Regions from separate parts of the Homo sapiens genome. Here region 1 is linked to region 2. Evidence: promoter capture Hi-C in human tissues and cell types (Jung and others, 2019). All regions are on one chromosome and are shown on one strand. The core of a region is centred on a gene start or on the middle of the fragment in contact, and the rest is flanking DNA. Distances in the headings are between cores, read along the strand shown.

Evidence for each region. The method cuts DNA at HindIII sites, captures the fragments that hold promoters and counts their contacts. A contact is called where the count stands out against the background at its distance.
Region 1: a contact is called between a fragment that was not itself captured here and the fragment with the promoter of AGO4 in region 2, in 1 of the 25 tissues and cell types used here (hippocampus).

What each region holds. Positions count from the first base shown.
Region 1 is chr1:35,634,893-35,637,860 of GRCh38, forward strand. It overlaps PSMB2 (proteasome 20S subunit beta 2), which reads right to left. Exons shown (of 6, transcript NM_002794.5): 2 at 1,418-1,540. Among named protein-coding and RNA genes, the nearest start is that of PSMB2, 5.1 kb to the right of the region's middle. The HindIII fragment of the contact is 7,718 bases long and covers 1-2,968 here.
Region 2 is chr1:35,806,632-35,809,331 of GRCh38, forward strand. AGO4 (argonaute RISC component 4) reads left to right here and starts at 1,385. Exons shown (of 18, transcript NM_017629.4): 1 at 1,385-1,804. The coding sequence starts at 1,786. CLSPN-DT (CLSPN divergent transcript) reads left to right here. Exons shown (of 3, transcript NR_199050.1): 3 at 114-309. RefSeq lists enhancers at 559-1,058, 2,158-2,437 and silencers at 1,268-1,477, 1,758-2,007. The HindIII fragment of the contact is 21,017 bases long and covers 1-2,700 here.

The DNA of each region.
Region 1 (2,968 bases), core at 385-2,884, 170 kb before region 2:
TCTTCCTGCCTCAGCCTCCTGAGTAGCTAGGGCTATAGGTGCATGCCACCACACTCAGCTAATTTTTAAAAACTTTTTTGTAGAAGGCCGGGCGTGGTGGCTCACACCTGTAATCCCAGAACTTTGGGAGGCCGAGGTGGGCAGATCATCTGAGGTCATGAGTTTGAGACCAGCCTGACCAACATGGAGAAACCCTGTCTCTACTAAAAATACAAAATTAGCCAGGCGTGGTGGCACATGCCTGTAATCCCAGCTACTTGGGAGGCTGAGGCAGGAGGATTGCTTGAACCTGGAAGGCAGAGGTTGCGGTGAGCCGAGATTGTGCCACTGCACTCCAGCCTGGACAACAAGAGTGAAACTCCATCTCAAAAAAAAAAAAAATTTTTTTTTTTTTTGTAGAGATGAGGTGTCACTACATTGCTCAGGCTAGTCTTAAACTCCTGGTCTCAAGTGATCCTCCCACCTTGTCCTCCCCAATTGCTGGGATTACAGGCATGAGCCATCATACCAGGCCGATGGTGTTAGTTTTATCTATCAGCTATCAGTGTTACAACAGTTCTCTGCTCTAGGATTTTTGTAGAAAATCTTTTATGAAGGATTAGAATCTTTAGGGTCTAGACAACTTCTTAAACACAGAAAACTCTAATGAAAATATGGGCTGGGCGTGGTGGCTCACGCCTGTAATCCCAGCACTTTGGGAGGCCGAGGTGGGCAGATCACAAGGTCAAGAGATGGAGACCATCCTGGTCAACGTGGTGAAACCCTGTCTCTACTAAAAATACAAAAATTAGCTGGACGTGGTGGTGCGTGCCTGTAGTCCCAGCTACTCAGGAGGCTGAGACAGGAGAATCGCTTGAACCTGGGAGGCGGAGGTTGCAGTAAGCAGAGATCGCGCCATTGCACTCCAGCCTGGGCAACAGAGCGAGACTCCGTCTCAAAAAAAAAAAAAAAAAAAAAAAAGAAAATATGACCACATAAGTCTTAAAGAATATTATTTTTCAGTTCAAATTTAAAGACAAACCAATTGTTATAGGCTGAATTTTGTCCACCAAAAATTCATATGTTGAAGTCTTAATCCCTAGTACTTTAGTATGTGACTGTATTTGGAGAAGGGATCCTTAAGAGGTTATTAAATTAAAATGAGTTCCTAATTCAACATGACTGGTATTCTTAGAAGAGAAAATTTGGATATAGTACAAAGAGAAAAATCACGTGAAGACACAGGGAGAAGATGGCTATCTGCAAGCCAAGGAGAGAGGCCTCAGAAATCAACGCTGCCAACACCTTAATCTTTGACTTCTAACATCTAGAACTGTGAGAAAATACATTTCTGTTGTTTAAGCCACCCAGTCTGTGACTTTAGTAATGGCAGCCCTAGTAAACTCATATGCCAACTAAAACTGTAAGTCTTACCCACCATTTCGCATCTTATAAAGTTGCACGTTTTTCTGAATATATTCTGCAAACTGTACAGTGTCTCCAGCCTCTCCAACACACAGGAGTAATATCTTTTCACTCATCTTAAACATCTTGTCATGATCTGCTCAAAGAAGAAAACTGTGTTAGAAACTGCCTTAACAGACATTGACCGTCATTATTTATGTAACCATAAACAGGTTTATTAATTACTACAGTTGGCCTTCCATATACATGGATTCTGAATCCACAATTCAACAAACTATGGATCAAAATTATTCAGAAAAAAAAAAAAATGGATGCTTGCATCTATCCTGAACATGTACTGACTTTTTTTCTGGTCATTATTCCCTAAACAATATGGTATAACAACTATTTACATAGCACTTATGTCATATTAAGTATTATAAATAATCTAGAGATGATTTGAAGTACACAGGAGTACCTGCATAGGTAATATGCAAATACTATACCATGTATATAATGGACTTTAAGCATCTATGGATTTGGGTATCTGCAGGGGTTCTGGAACCAATCCCTACAGATACCAAGGGACGACTGTATATTGAATAATTTAACTAATTATTGCTTTTAGAAGATTTTAATAGGTAATGGTATCAATTTTTCTCTTTCACTCTTCATGTTAAACCATCAGCATATTGTGTAATGCCAATTTCGGTTGGAGAATATACATGAAAGCTACCAATTGAAAATACAATTTAAAGCATTTAAAGGCATTTGAAATGCAAGGAACAGAACGACAGAAGAAACTGAAGGAATCCAGCCAATGGCGATTATCTTTAGGCTCATGATAACAAAGCCCTAAAATGTTTCCACAACTACAAATGTTAGTTATTATATTTATACACATACAAAAGCATATATGAAAAGGACTGGTGCTATAATTAAAATTAAGGAACCATTTCAAGAAAGAATAGAAAATCAACTGAGAATATTAATCACTTTAAAAAGTAAACAAATTCCACTTCCAAAGAAAAAGAGAAAATTAAAATGATTGCCAAAGCAAAAATTCTAGTGAATATTTTGACAGTAAGCTATTTAAAATACCTCACAAAAATCCTAATACTCTAATCTTATCTAGCTGAACCAGAGTCATTCAGATTAGACAGATAAATAAATATTCAGGTTACAGTTATTGCCTAAGGAAGAAAACTCCACATTCAGTCTGCAGCTTCAGAAAAGGCCTAAATCTTCCTATCTCACTTTCACTTTCACTTTTCATTTTTCAAATAGTGCTGAATAATCCTCCCTGGGAGACACGTTTCCTGTTTGAAAGCTTCTGAAATGCCAAAATCCTTTAATAGGATTTAAAGAACAAAATGCTACTGTCAAATACTTTACAAGTGTTTCAGAGTTGTAGATACCAGTAATATGGCTTCTTAGACTTGGAGGGAAAAAACACACAAAATGCACCTGTAGATAATATCAAATTGCCTCAAAACTCCTAAACAAACACACTTTTATTTGTTATGCAGGCTAGATTTAAAGATTGTTAGTTTGCAAACTTGTTAATAAACGAAAAACATTCACT
Region 2 (2,700 bases), core at 135-2,634:
TATATTGAAGTCCTAACTCTAGCACCCCAGGATGTGACTGTAATTGGAAACAGGGTCTCTGAAGAGGTAATTAAATTAAAACGAGGTCACTAGAGTGAGCCCTACTCTAATAGGACTGCTGTCCTTATAAGAAGAGGAAATTTGGACACAGACGTGCACAGAGGGAAGACCACGTGAAGTCACTGGGAGAAGGCCACTATCTACCAAGTGAAGGAGATAGGCCTCAGAAGGAACCAACCCTGCCTACATCGTATCTCTGACTGCCAGCCTCCAGAATTGTGAGAAAATAAATTTCTGTTGTTTAAGCCACCCAGTCTGTGGTACTTTGTTACGTTATGCCGTAGCAAAGGAATACAACACACACACACAAACTCATCGTACCTTTTCAATTGGTGGACAAGGGGCTCCTTCCTTCTGCTGACTAGAAACTGCTTCTTGGCCTGTTGTCCAGTGTTCTCCCACTCAAAGTCCTTACTGAAAGCCCTAAAGATGCTGTGCCTGCTGGGCTGACCATGCTGCCTTGGAGGTGGTGCTGCTCCCTTGGCTTTTGTCTGCTAAGGGGAAGGCATCCAAGAAAGCAAGACCTTTCTCTCTCTCTCTCTCTTTTATTTTTATTTTTTTTTTTTCAGACAGTCTTGCTCTGTCGCCCAGGCTGGAGTGCAGTGGCCCGATTTCGGCTCACTGAAACCTCTGCCTCCCGGGTTCAAGCGATTCTCCTGCCTCAGCCTCCCAAGTAGCTGGGATTACAGGCGCCTGCCTCCACGCCCGGCTAATTTTTTGTGTTTTTAGTAGAGATGGGCTTCCGCCATGTTGGCCAGGATGGTCTCAAACTCCTGACCCCAGGTGATCCACCCGCCTCCGCCTCCCAAAGTGCTGGTATTACAGGCGTGAGCCACCACGCCCGGCCAAGACCTTTCTCTTCTAAAGTGACTGGTGATTTGCTGACCAGAGGCGCTTGTCATGGGACCAGGGAGGGAATGCATCATTCATCAGGGTCCATTCCCGTGGTGCCTTCCGGCTATACGGAGAGGGACGCGCAGTTGGGTGTGTGGTGCTGAATGAAGGGATGAAGGAGGACTGCTAGCGTCTAAGGTGACCCTAAAAGACGAGATGACAGAAGCGATCTGGGGTGGGAGGAGGGAGGAGGGAGGCGAGGTGGCTCCTGTGAATCTCAGTACACTTTCCACTCACAGAAGTGGAAAACTGAATCTGTGGGTCAGCGGAACTGGAATCCAGATCTTTTGCAGGACGCCCTGGGGGGATGGCACGTAGCCCCCAGAGCCGTTGGCCACCGGACGGCCTCCTCGGGTGGACGGGGCAGAGCGGGCCAGCGGGCGCGTGCCCGACACGTCCACCGGGCTCTGCACCCTCCGGGCGCGCGCTCGTTCCCCGACCCGCCTCGCCGCCTGCCGGGCTCTGTGGACCCCGCGCCCGGGGCCGCGCACGCCCCCTCCGCCCGCCGGGACCCTGGGTCCGCGCACCCCGCGCCCCCTTCCCTCCCGGCGGGCGCGCGCGCTGGCTCCCGCTCCCGCTCCCGTTGGCGGCGGCGGCGGCGGCGGCGGCGGGGATTGTTTTTGTTGTCGCTGAGGCCGGAAGAGCCGGAGCCGGGTCCCTGTCCCCGGGCCGGGCGCCGCCGCCGCCCCCTGCCCAGCGCCCGCGTCTCCGCGGCGCCACCCCAGCGCCAATATTCCGGAGATCAAGCGTTACGCGGCGGCGGCGGCGGCGGCGGCGGGGCCCGGAGCGGGAGGCGCCGGGGACCGGGGCGAGGCGGCCCCCGCCGCCGCCATGGAGGCGCTGGGACCCGGTGAGGAGCGAGCTCGGGTCGGGGCGGGACCCGGGACCCGGGACCCGGGGCGGGCGGCCGGGACTTTCGCTGCCCCGTCGCCTCGCCGGGTTCGGGCCGCCAGGCCTCGGGGAAGGGGACCCGAGCCCCGCAGCACGAAGCGGAGGGAGCTGACCCGGGCCTGGGGGGCGGTGACCGCGCCCCAGCCGGCCGTTGGGTGGATCCCGAGGTCCAGGGGGGAGGTTCGGGAAGGTGACCGGCGCTGCCGGGCGGAGGCCACTCTTGGCCCCACCTCGGGGAGACGATATGTGCCCGGGGTCGCGACGAGGGTAGTTTGGGCCTCAGAAGGGGGCGATCCGCTACCCAGTGCGCGCGGAGGCCTGGCCCAGACCGGGAAAAGGGCCCCGCTGCCTACTACCAGCCGGTAGTCCTGGTTTGGGGCCGCGCCCCTATTTTTCTTTGCACTGGCAGATGGTCCAGAGCCTTCAGATGAGGAAGAAGAACTTCATCCAAACACCTCTCATGATCTCTGAAGGTCAAGGGACAAAATGCCCACCCTTTCTGAAAGGCCCTGATGTCCCAAAGAACATGGTCCTGTGCCTCTGTCACTCAGTCTGTGTGTTAGTCTCAGAGTGGTCTGAGCCAGCCTTTGAGTGACACAGGAGTTGCCAGTCAGTCTGCTCCACCACAGGCTTCAATGCCCTGAGTTCTCTTCTAATTGGGTTATGAGTGGTTGTGAGGATCAAATGAAGGAGAAAGTGCTTTGGAAACTAATTTGTTGTGGATATGGATGGCCTCTGGTTATTTCTCTCTATCCAAACCAGAAGAACCATTCCAGGCTGTAACAAGTGTCCTGAGTATTGGGGCCTGGTGCTTCCACCTCAAAGCCCAACAGGTTTCTAATGCCTTGGCTAAGT